Linked DNA regions of Homo sapiens: all the other regions are linked to region 1. Evidence: promoter capture Hi-C in 16 types of primary human blood cells and fetal thymus (Javierre and others, 2016). All regions are on one chromosome and are shown on one strand. Each heading gives the region's core, a stretch centred on a gene start or on the middle of the fragment in contact. The rest is flanking DNA. Distances are from core to core; before and after follow the strand shown.

What was found. The method cuts DNA at HindIII sites, captures the fragments that hold promoters and counts their contacts. A CHiCAGO score of 5 or more calls a contact.
Region 2: a contact is called between a fragment that was not itself captured here and the fragment with the promoter of LSM10 in region 1, in 1 of 17 cell types (neutrophils). The highest score is 5.1, in neutrophils.
Region 3: a fragment that was not itself captured here is called in contact with the fragment with the promoter of LSM10 in region 1 in 11 of 17 cell types (fetal thymus, naive CD4 T cells, total B cells and 8 more); the score reaches 8.9 in fetal thymus.

What each region holds. Positions count from the first base shown.
Region 1 is chr1:36,396,118-36,400,259 of GRCh38, reverse strand. It overlaps LSM10 (LSM10, U7 small nuclear RNA associated), which reads left to right and starts at 2,352. Exons shown (of 2, transcript NM_032881.3): 1 at 2,352-2,493. RefSeq lists enhancers at 1-65, 1,783-2,494, 2,495-3,207. The HindIII fragment of the contact is 5,014 bases long and covers 1,960-4,142 here.
Region 2 is chr1:36,059,657-36,063,798 of GRCh38, reverse strand. AGO3 (argonaute RISC catalytic component 3) reads right to left here. Exons shown (of 19, transcript NM_024852.4): 19 at 1-4,142. Among named protein-coding and RNA genes, the nearest start is that of TEKT2, 22 kb to the left of the region's middle. The HindIII fragment of the contact is 1,067 bases long and covers 1,875-2,941 here.
Region 3 is chr1:36,098,197-36,102,338 of GRCh38, reverse strand. It overlaps COL8A2 (collagen type VIII alpha 2 chain), which reads left to right. Exons shown (of 4, transcript NM_005202.4): 3 at 2,081-2,289; 4 at 2,852-4,142. The coding sequence starts at 2,097. Among named protein-coding and RNA genes, the nearest start is that of ADPRS, 11 kb to the right of the region's middle. RefSeq lists a silencer at 2,147-2,276. The HindIII fragment of the contact is 9,742 bases long and covers 1-4,142 here.

The sequences.
Region 1 (4,142 bases), core at 1,103-3,602:
CCCAAAGTGCTGGGATTACAGGCGTGAGCCACCGCGCCCGGCCACACCCAGCTAATTTCTTAAAACATTTTTGGCCGGGCTCGGTGGCTCACGCCTGTAATCCCAGCACTTTGGGAGGCCGAGGTGGGCAGATCACCTGAGGTAGGGAGTTCGACACCAGCCTGACCGACATGGAGAAACCCCGTCACTACTAAAAATACAAAAATTAGCCGGGTGTGGTGGTGCACACCTGTAATCCCAGCTACTTGGGAGGCTGAGGCAGGAGAATTGCTTCAACCCGGGAGGCGGAGGTTGTAAGCCGAGATCAGGCCATTGCACTCCAGCCTGGGCAACAAGAGTGAAACTCCATCTCAAAAACAAAAAAAAATTTAGAGATGGGGTCTCACTATGTTGCCCAGGCTGGTCTCAAACTCCTGAGCTTAAACAGTCCTCTTGCCTTGGCCTCCCAAAGTGTTGGGATTACAGGTGTGAGCCACCACCCCCAGCCAAGAAGCCTAATTTACTGAGCTTCTTCTCTGTGCCAGATGCTTTCACACATTAATGAAGGTCACTTAAATCTTACAGTTCTCTGAGAAAGGCCTAATTTTTTGTTTTCATAACAAGCAAATTGAGGCTGAGGAAGAAAGTAATTTTTCCAAGGCTATACAGAGTGACTTTTAAAAAATGTAAATCAGGTGGGGCACAGTGGCGTGTGCCTGTAGTCCCAGCTATTCTTGAGGCTTGGGTAGGAGGATCACTTGAGCCCAGGTAGTTGAGGCTGCAGTGAGCTATGATCACACCACTGCACTCCAGCCTGGATGACAGGGTGAGAACCTGTCTCTACAAGTAAATCAAATCACTTCGCTCCCTTTCAATAGCCTGTCATAGCACTTCTAGTACTAGATGAGAAGACTGAGGCACAGAGAAGATACTAACTTGCCCAAAGTCACAATTAGCCAGGAGTAGATTTGAACCTAGGCACTGTATCCGGAGGCTGCACTCCTAACCATGAAATCTAAACTCCTTACCTTGGCTCACAAAGCCCTATATGCTCTGGTTCCTGCTTCCTCTCTGGCCTCTTGTTATACCACTCTCCCCAGCTTCCCTGGCCTTTCCTGTGTTCCTAAATTGTCAAGGTCATTTCCCCCAGGTTCTTTGCATGAACTGTGAAAAGAAAAAATTTAACTTTTAATTGGTGATTTGACTTTTTTTTGCCAAATTTGTTAAATCTGACTTTTATTTGCAACTCTAGAATCGGGCAACACTTCATTCTATAAAATGGAATGAGTGTTCAAATGAGCTGAGCAGAGGAGATTGGTTTTACAGCCAGAAAAGGGCTGAGGAAAGCAGAAACAGAAAACAAAAAGATTGGTTGTTTCAAAGTTACTTTCCTTGTAACTTTGAAGGCTAAAGCAGAGGGGACTTCCTTATCCTGCCAGCTAAAACAGGATGGTTTGGAGATCTAGCTATCTCTCACTCTTCTGATTTATCGGAATATCAGATAAACAACTTAGTTTCCACTTGGTGATGTAGAACTTTAGCATGAGTGACTCCATTTTGGTTCTGTTGGGCTTGGTGCAGGAGCCCTGTTCAAACCAATGGCCTCCAATTTTTTTTTTTTTTTGAGACGGAGTCTTGCTCTGTTGCCCAGGCTGGAATGAAGTGTTACTTTCTGAGCTCACTGCAGCCTCCACTTCCTGGATTCAAGCAATTCTCCTGCCTCAGCCTCCCAAGTAGGTGGGACCAGAGGTGTACGCCACCACGGTGGGCTAATTTTTTCTATTTTTTGTAGAGACAGGGTCTCCCCATTGTTGCCCAGACTGGTCTCGAACTCCTGGGCTCCAGTGATCCTTCCGCCTTGTCCTCCAAAGTGCTGGGATTACAGGTGTGGGCCTCTGCACCCGGCCCTGCCTCCTATAAATTTTACTTAACAAACTGTTCCCGCTAATTGCAATGCTCCTCCCATAGTTTTCACAAGCTTGGCTTCATGTCACTAATCTCAACTCAAATGTCACCTTCTCAGGGCACCCCTGACAATCCAATAAAAGACCACCTTGTCACCATCACATCACACCTTTAATCTTCTGAAGAAATTTTTCCCTATTTTTCTTCTTTGTTTTCTTAAGACTCTCTCCCCTGCAGCGCCATCAGCTCAGGGAGCCACTTGATCTTGGTCACTGCTCCATGCCGGAGCCTGGGAAGGAGCCTGGCCCAGGTCGCCGGTTCAATGAATGCGTGCGGAATGAATGAACGACTCTAGTGAAAGAGACTCCAATGACGCAGGCCGGGATTTGCGGAGCACGAGCCCCGCGCCGCGAAGCATTCTGGGGATTGTAGTTTCTCCGTGACGCGGTGACTTGCAGAGCACTGACGCACTCTGCGCCCGGAGGACAGAGCGGCCCGGTCGCCGGCATGGTTTCTCCGTCCTGCTGCAGCCGGCGGGAGGCAGCCAGTCCAGGCGCCCGCTAGCTTCGGCGGCGACCCAGACGGGGAAAGCGGAAGGAATGTCGCGTGGTGGGTCCGGGTCGGCGGTGCAGGGAGCCCCGGGGCGGAATGCGGGGGATGCCAGGACCTCCGGAAGGAGGTGCCGGAGCCCAGGAAGCGTTTTCTTCCCCATTTACCGAGTATAGCTCCTTTCCCCAGACCCGCTCCCGCTGCTCTGAGTAAGCGGTGCTCATCCCGTTTTACCGGTAGCTTAGCTAGCTTGGAGAAGCTAAGTGGTTTGCTAAGTGATCGCCCTCCTAGGAGGTGGCAAAGCCTGTTCTAGAACCCGGGCCTGACTCGAGGTCCGGTGACTGCTCTTTGCAGTCGCAGCAGCAGCCCCATACCTTTGCTTGATCGCAGATTCATCAGGCTGCAGCCGGGTGGCTGGTCGTTAGGCCATGCCCAGGGACCTAGCTCCCAGGCCCCCTCGTCACTGGCCTAGTCTGGCTTGCCACGCTCAGTGCCACAATGCACAGCCCTGGACGGGATGCTGAGTGAGGTCGTAAAGAGAGAGCGTTCCACCCCCTTTAACTCAGGTCTGAAAATAAGGGATAGGTAAGACATAGTGCACTAATACATTATCAGGGCATGTTGAAATCAAAGGAGAGTACCTTTAGTGGAGTGTGATTCTGGTAGCTTTGTTTCTCCTGTAGTTTAATAAATGTGGAAACAGGTTCAGAGACATTAACTTTTCTAGGTTTTCATAATTAGGGGTGGAGTGGGGATTCCAACCTAGGTTTCTCTACCTTCAAAACCTATGTACCTTATATAATACCGGTTGGGGGTTTTTTTCCCCAATTCATTATCCAGATTTATTTTCTTTTTTTTTTTCTGAGAGTCTCGCTGTGTCACCCAGGCTGGTGTGCAGTGGCACAATCTTGGCTCACTGTAACCTCTGCCTCCTGGGTTCAAGCGATTCTCCTGCTTCAGCCTCCCAAGTAGCTGAGATTACAGGTGCGCCCATGCCCAGGTAATTTTTGTATTTTTGGTAGATACTGGGTTTCACCATGTTGGCCAGGCGGGTCTTGAACTCCTGACCTCAGGTGATCCACTCGCCTTGGCCTCCCAAAATCCTGGGATTACAGGCGTGAGCCCTTGCACCCGGCCTCATTACCTTAATTTCTACTTACATAACAGCTGCATGGTGTAGACCAATAGTTCCCAGAGTGTGGGCCCCTGACCAGCAGCATCAGCATCACCTGGGAACATGTTCAAAATGACTTTATCTCTGGGCCTCACCTCAGACCTGAGTCAAACTGGGAGTGGGGCCCAGCAAGCTGAGTTAACAAGCCCCTCAGATGATTCTGATACACACTAATGTTTGAGAACTACTGGTGTCAACCAATGATTCTCAAACCTTAACGTGTATCTAATTCACGTAGGGGGTCATGTTAAAATGCAGTCTGTTTCCAGCCAGCGTGGAAGATGGCAGTGAGCCACTCAGTGAAGGAGTGGATTTTATCTCAGAACAGGCTTGGGGAGAGACCTGAGATTGCGCATTTCTAACCAGTACCCCTCAGCACTTTGGAGTTATCTGGGGAGCTTTCTTTTTTTTTTTTTTTTTTTTTTTTTTGAGATGGAGTCACTCTGCTGCCCAGGCTGGAGTGCAGTGGCACTCCACTTGCAGCTCACTGCAAGCTCTGTCTCCCAGGTTCACGCCATTCTCCTGCCTCAGCCCC
Region 2 (4,142 bases), core at 1,159-3,658, 340 kb after region 1:
AAACAAATAATCTTGACCTATTCACTAGGAAACTGGACTGTCTATATATAATTGAACTTAATATTCTATAATCATGCTTTTTGCTGCCTTCCAATTTATTCACATTCATAAATTATTACTATTTAAATTTTTAATTAGCTGAAGTACTCTATTAATCAGTCTTTATACCTGGCTCTCCCTAGCCACTTAAACTCTGATTTCTTCATTGATACTCAGGGATTCAATCAACTTTAGAAGTATGCTAGGGAAAAGATCAGGGTAGCAAATCTTCCATATAACAAATTATGGGGGAAAAGTTTCATTTCAAAGTCAATTCAATGAATTTTGAATCATTTGCTATTTGTTTTCCAGGCCTACAAAAATGGTATCTTAATCCTAATGCTGAAAAATGTGACCATTTAAGCAGTTTCAATGTGCTTAAATTTAAAAAAAAAAGGCATGTAACAATTATTTATTTGACAGGTTTCCCCAAAACTGTAGTCAGGTAAAATAAATCCAATCTGTTATGTTAGTTTGCTACTAAAGGGGAAAAAAAGGATCAAACTTACAGGAAAGCCCCACCTCCCCTCCACATGTAGAAATCTGTCTAAAGACTGTCTTTAATGCCCACTATATAAACAACATTAAATATTCTAAGTTACAAAATAGTGTTAATGGTTTATTGGTAAAAATCCAAACTCTAGAGTTTATGGAATTCGTAGTTTGGTTGGTATATTAACACTCCATCTTAATCTTTGCTGCTATTACAAAGAATGAGGAAAGCTAGAAATATCTATAAAAATAAAATACCTTAAAACCGACAAGCAAAATATAAAAGTTGCATACAAATTGCCAATAAATATAAACATCACAATAGAAAAATTAATCTTAACAAAAATAAACTCATAATTGCTATTAAGACATTATAAAAACAAAAAAGTTTAATGTGCATGTATATTTGCAAACAGACACAGTACACTCCAAACAATATAATTTTACTATCATTATTATATAATGCAGCATACAAGGTTACTGAGGTGTGGTATTTTTTGTTGTTGTTGTTGTTTGCTTTTAGTCTTCTTTTCTGGAAGAATGCTCACCAAATTCACAGGAAAGAAGTGCCTAGGTGATCATTTACTGCTATTTACTGCTTCCTGGTATGGAGCAAAATTGCCCTCTGGTAGGTAACTACATTTCTAATTAGTATGAAAGGTTCTACTATTTTCCTTTCTTTTGCTTATTTCCCCTTAAGCACAATTTGCAGACCCTACTTCTATTTAACTGATCATACCCTTTTAAATGCCTTGTCATCATTTTTCATAGTTCCTGCATCCTAGAAAAAATAAAAAATCATTTAAAATATTCCTTGGTGTCTAGAAAAGAAAATTTCTCTAACAATAGAGATTATCATTTTGCTTTCTCACTTAAGCTGATCTGAATGATGATTTGGTACTGCCTTTATGAGCAGTCCTCCTTAATAATGACTAATTAGGGCCGGGTGTGGTGGTGCATGCCTGTAATCCCAGCTACTTGGGAGGCTGAGGCACGAGAATCACTTGAACCCGGGAGGCGGAGTTTGCAGTAAGCTGAGATTGAGCCACTGCACTCCAGCCTAGGTGACAGAGCAAGACTTTGTCTCAAAAAAAAAAAAAAAAAAAAAGATTAATTAGAAAATGTTGCCTATGATTCCAGGCAAGTTACATTTCCCTTTGGACATTGGTACTATACCCATAATCTTGTTAAAAAGTTAAGTAGGTTTGCTGTTTTATGTGCATTATGGATTTCCTCCAACACAGTTGGGAATTAAAAGAGGTAATTCTACTAAATATTTTGTTTTCAAATTTACAAAATAAATTTGGTGAGCATTTACCTAGATACTTTACTGCATAAAAGCTTTCCTTGGTTCCCTTGGACGAGATTCAAGACAACAACTAACATTATTTTTATGAAACTGTCACACTCTTGGAGTTCTAAAATAATTTATCTTTAAAATTCTTAGCTTCGTGCTACTTGAAAAATAAAAATCTACAGCACCATCTTCTGAAAAGGCACTTTCTAAGAACCGCCTTGCTTTAAAAAATGATTAAAAAATTTAACTCAAGAGTCTACGCCCTGACAAACGTCTTTGCTTTACTGAGACCCTAACATAGATACATTAGATTCTGGTTACCTTAGAAATTAGTCTAAAAAAGGAAGGGACCCCGATGGCTGGATAGGTGATTTGACAGGATTCTAATTTTGTCACACCATTTACCTGATACTTCAACAGGGTTTCTCACTGGTAAATCTCAACCCTCTATATTGAATTTACCATCCTTCTATCTTTAATTCAAATTAAAATCTTTAACTTCCATATTTTAAGAACAAAAGATTCTTGAGATTTAATCAATGATGTAAACATCTGGAGTACTAGTTTTGATGGGTAAAGTAATATAAATTTCAATGAGTAGTAGGTAATATTAGCACAAGCCTTGACCATTATACCTTAGTTTAAAAAATTATGTTGACTGACATGGAAAATTATAAACTTAAATGTACCATTTTAAAAGTAGGAAAAAAGTCAAAATAATTTTTCCCTTTGTGTGTGTGTGTGAGATTATATATATACACACTCATACATATACACACACACACACTCCCCCTCCCTGCTTCCTGGGACTCAGCTTGGCTTTCACTAATCACAGTGTCATTTCTAACACTGCAACGGATCAAGAATGTTCTTAGTATAAGCAGGACTTTTTTAAAAAGATTTTTTGGAGAAAATTCTCACTTTCTGATTTCTGTGCTGACTGACTTACCTACTCTTGGCTGATTTTTTGACTCCTATAGAATCACAAAAGTGCTTTTCTATGATCAAATATGAGGACTGAAATAGGAAAACAAGAGTTCTAAATTAGGGTTATACTGCTACACAGGAAGGCGTTACTTGATGTCAAACCTCCCAACAATTCTTACTGAAGCTTTAAGACATTTATGAATTCTCAAAAAGAATGAAAATAATGAATACTTCATATGGATAAAGCCAAAATAAAGACGCCACACTAATGATATTTTTGCAGCTTGACTAACTAATAAAAGGTAATTTAAGTAGCAAGTTACTGTTAAGGGCAACCTGCCTGTTCAACAGAAGAACATCTAAGAGGATAAGCTAAGCAAACATTTAACTCAGGTTTAATGATACTGAATGAAAATTTTGCAGAGTTGTCAGTTAAACTTCTTGGTAAAAATATTAAAATCAAGTTTGAAATAGGAAGACTGCAACATATTCTAGCTGTATCGAAGTCGTTTGCTTCTTGAATTTCATAAAAATCACTGCCCTTGGCAAATTCATGTAGGGCTCTAAACAGATCCATCAAGTTCCTTGAGTCACAAACGGTCTCTAATTCCTGGTCTGCAATCCATCTAAATACTTCGGATCCATCACTGGCATGCTTAGCGCTCACCCTTTCCTTGAACACAGAGATCCGCTGCCAGTCATTCCTGCTGAAGGGCAAGTCAGGTTTTATTTCCCTAGACATGCCTTCAGTCTTTCATGACTCTGTCAGAAGGCCTATCCTCCTAAAATCCATTAGAGAATACACAAGCAAACACTAGGCAGTGGTGGGCTGTGGAGAAGCTAGCTTGGAAACTGGTCTAGATCTTTAGAAGGCTGAGAATCCCTGTGCTGGAAAGCAGAGATGCCTCTATCAAGTGCCTTCCAAAACACTCAGTAATTCCTACTAGAATCCCTGCTAGACTCTCTTCTAGGAATAGAAATATATTAATAGGTTATAAACAGGGATTTCCCTTAGAATGATAGTTTTTCCAAGAAACTTGTTAGAAGATCACTATTAAGAAAAAGAAAGGGAATCTAATATTTCTGTTGAAATGTGCCAAAAAACCAGTACTGAAGAGGCTGAGGTACCCTTTTTCAAACTGTAAAAGTCAAAATCTACATTTCTAAAACAAAGAATATCCTGATATTAAATTGAAACTAAAATGGCAGCACCCTTTGTTACTTTGATATTCCGTGTCCTTACTCTTAGGAAAAAAAAGGGTCTAACACTAGCCTTGAATCCTGCTTATCTCCTTACTGTTTAGTGCAGTAACTGTCAGAATCTACTTAAATAAATATAGCAGCTACAATATTGTAAGTGTATGGTCCTCCATGCCAGTAACCTGAT
Region 3 (4,142 bases), core at 827-3,326, 300 kb after region 1:
CCTTAGGCAACCACTGATCCACTTTCTGTCTCTATGGATTTGCCTATTCTGGCCATTTCATATAAATGGAATCACACAACATGTACATTCCATATCTCACTTTTCACTGTTTTCAAGATTCATCTGTGTTGTAGCAGGTGTCAGGACTTCCTTCCTTTTATATATATATATTTTGAGACCAGGTCTCCCTCTGTCACCCAGGCTGGAGTGCAGCTCACTGCAACCTCCACCTCCTGAGCTCAAGTGATCCTCCCTCTTCAGCCTCCTGAGTAGCTGGGACCACAGCACGCCCACACCCAGCTAATTTTTTGTTTGTTTGTTTTGTAGAGATGGGGTTTCACCAGGTTGCCCAGGCTGGTCTCAAACTCCTGGGCTCAGACAATTCACCCACCTCTGCCTCCCAAAGTACTGAGATTACAGGCGTGAGCTGCTGTGCTTAGCCTATTTATAGATATATTTTTAAATTTGGGGTTTTGCTATGTTGCCCAGGCTGGTTTTAAACTCAGGGCTCAAGTGATCCTCCCACCTCAGCCTCCTGAGTAGCTGGGACTACAGGTATACACCACCATGCCCAGCCTGTACTTCATTCATTTTCATTGCCGAGTAATATTCCATTGTATGGCGATACCACATTTTATTTGTCCATGGACATTTGCGTTGTCTCTACTTTTGGCTGCTGTGAATATCGCTATTATGAACATTCACATATAGGTTATTGTGTGGACATCCTCTCTCATTTCATGGATGAGGAGACCTCCTGCCCAGGCTCCCACAGCTGGGAAGGGGAAGGGGAAGGCTGCCTGGCTGGTTCCAGAGCCTGTGCTTCTTCCTCACCCAGGCTTTGTTCTCTGAGTTGAGCCAAATGCTGTGACAGGCATAGGTCAGGGCACAAAGAAATGAGGCTTTATAGAGGAAGGGATGACAGCCTCCCAGGGCCATAAAAGATGAGTAGAGGAGGAAAATAACATTGCAGGCAGAGAAATAGCAGGCGCAAAGGCCAGAAGTGTTAAGGTGCCCGGTGCCTGGGAACTTCAAGTTCTGGTTTACTGGGTGGAGGTGTGGGGAGGTGAGGGGCAGAGAAAGGGATAGCAGGCAATAGAGTTGGAGACACAGGCACAGAGTAGGTTAGAAAGGCCTTGAATGCAGGCCGGGCGCGGTGGCTCATGCCTGTAATCCTAACACTTTGGGAGGCTGAGGCAGCCGGATCACCTGAGGTCAGGAGTTCGAGACCAGCCTGGCCAACATGGCGAAACTCCATCTCTACTAAAAATACAAGAATTAGCCAGGCGTGGTGGCACACACCTATAATTCCAGCTACTTGGGAGGCTAAGGCACGAGAATCGCTTGAACCCGGGAGGCAGATTTTGCAGTGAGCCAGGATGGCGCCATTGCACATTGCACTGGGCGAGCAAAACTGTCTCAAAAAAAAAAAAAAAAAAAAAAAAAAAAAAGCCTTGAATGCTATGCTAAGCGCCATAGACTTGATCCCAAAGGCGAGTGGCAGGGAGTCCAGAAGGGCATCAGCAGAAGGTGCAGTCAGACAGACCTAAGACAAATCCCATCTCTGGCTTCCTCAAGACTTTTGCTTTAGTTTTATCATCTGGAAAATGGAGATGACAATAATAATAACTTGTTAAAGTGTTCTGAGCATTAAGTGAATTCATGTCCCTAAAGAGCTCAGCCTAGTGCCTGGCAGAGAGCTGGCCCAGCAATGGAAATGGGTGTTGACATCCAAGAGTTTTTAGCAGGGGAGGTCAGACTGCTCTAAAAGGCACGCCCGGCTGCAGAGAGTGACTGGCTGGTTTTGAGGAGGCTGCTGTCCTGGGGAGGCTGGGCTCTCGGAGATGGTGGGGGTGATGAACAGCCACAGGCAGGGTCTGAAGAAGTTTAGGAGGTGGCTTATGCAGACCCCCGCGACTTTGAAAATTGCTTGTGAATAATATCTAAATTCGGAATTGCTTCTCAGCCTTTTGACTGAAATCTCCAGTGTAATCTCTAAATTCTGATCTTTTGGTGACCCCGGGCCTAGTGCCAAACCACCCAGGGCTGGCTTGATGACTTTCTCTGTTCTTCTTTGCAGCACGTCCACGGACGCCATGCTGGGGACTCTGACACCCCTGTCTTCGCTGCTGCTGCTGCTACTGGTGCTGGTGCTGGGGTGTGGGCCGCGGGCGTCCTCTGGTGGCGGGGCCGGTGGGGCGGCGGGCTATGCCCCAGTGAAGTACATCCAGCCCATGCAGAAAGGACCTGTGGGACCGCCCTTCCGTGAGGGCAAAGGCCAGTACCTGGGTGAGAGCCTCCTCACCCCACAGTGCCTCAAATCGCTCCCAGCCCCCAAATCCCCTGCCTCCCTGAGAGCCATCAGATCCTCAGGCGCCCTCCACAGCTCCTCATTCCCCACCAATTTTCCTACCTTCAGTGTTTTTCCTAATACCCCAGAGGGCCTGGAAACGGTGCAGTTAGCTGGCACAGGTGGTCTTCCAAGGGGGAGATGAACTGGGAAGTTGGGAGGTGGGGCTCTGCTCCCACGGGCTCTAAGGTGGGCTGCTGGTGCCACCTGGTGGCCACTCCACCTTCAGGTCATGCAGGGATGAGAGGTGAGAATCAGCCAGGCTCATGGAGGAGGCCCAGCCTAGGTAGGTTGGGTGTTAGGAGCCCTTAAGGAGGACACCCTGTTGCCCCCAAGATGTCCCCTGGGCCACCCCCAAACCCCATCTTCCATGAGAGCAGGAAGGGGCAGCCCCATTCTTCCTCTCCCGTGTACCTCATACTGGAATGGGGGAATGGGTAGATGGGGTCCCCTGTCCCCACAGTTCAGGCCCCTGACTGCCCCTTTCTCTTTCTTTCTCAGAAATGCCTCTACCGCTGCTGCCGATGGACCTGAAGGGAGAGCCCGGCCCCCCTGGGAAGCCCGGGCCTCGGGGTCCCCCTGGCCCCCCTGGCTTCCCAGGAAAACCAGGCATGGGAAAGCCAGGACTCCATGGGCAGCCTGGCCCTGCTGGGCCCCCTGGCTTCTCCCGGATGGGCAAGGCTGGTCCCCCAGGGCTCCCTGGCAAGGTCGGGCCACCAGGGCAGCCGGGGCTTCGGGGGGAGCCAGGAATACGAGGGGACCAGGGCCTCCGGGGACCCCCAGGACCCCCTGGCCTCCCGGGCCCCTCAGGCATTACTATCCCTGGAAAACCAGGTGCCCAAGGGGTGCCAGGGCCCCCAGGATTCCAGGGGGAACCAGGGCCCCAGGGGGAGCCTGGGCCCCCAGGTGATCGAGGCCTCAAGGGGGATAATGGAGTGGGCCAGCCCGGGCTGCCTGGGGCCCCAGGGCAGGGGGGTGCCCCCGGCCCCCCCGGCCTCCCTGGTCCAGCTGGCTTAGGCAAACCTGGTTTGGATGGGCTTCCTGGGGCCCCAGGAGACAAGGGTGAGTCTGGGCCTCCTGGAGTTCCAGGCCCCAGGGGGGAGCCAGGAGCTGTGGGCCCAAAAGGACCTCCTGGAGTAGACGGTGTGGGAGTCCCAGGGGCAGCAGGGTTGCCAGGACCACAGGGCCCATCAGGGGCCAAAGGGGAGCCAGGGACCCGGGGCCCCCCTGGGCTGATAGGCCCCACTGGCTATGGGATGCCAGGACTGCCAGGCCCCAAGGGGGACAGGGGCCCAGCTGGGGTCCCAGGACTCTTGGGGGACAGGGGTGAGCCAGGGGAGGATGGGGAGCCAGGGGAGCAGGGCCCACAGGGTCTTGGGGGTCCCCCTGGACTTCCTGGGTCTGCAGGGCTTCCTGGCAGACGTGGGCCCCCTGGGCCTAAGGGTGAGGCAGGGCCTGGAGGACCCCCAGGAGTGCCTGGCATTCGAGGTGACCAGGGGCCTAGTGGCCTGGCTGGGAAACCAGGGGTCCCAGGTGAGAGGGGACTTCCTGGGGCCCATGGACCCCCTGGACCAACTGGGCCCAAGGGTGAGCCGGGTTTCACGGGTCGCCCTGGAGGACCAGGGGTGGCAGGAGCCCTGGGGCAGAAAGGTGACTTGGGGCTCCCTGGGCAGCCTGGCCTGAGGGGTCCCTCAGGAATCCCAGGACTCCAGGGTCCAGCTGGCCCTATTGGGCCCCAAGGCCTGCCGGGCCTGAAGGGGGAACCAGGCCTGCCAGGGCCCCCTGGAGAGGG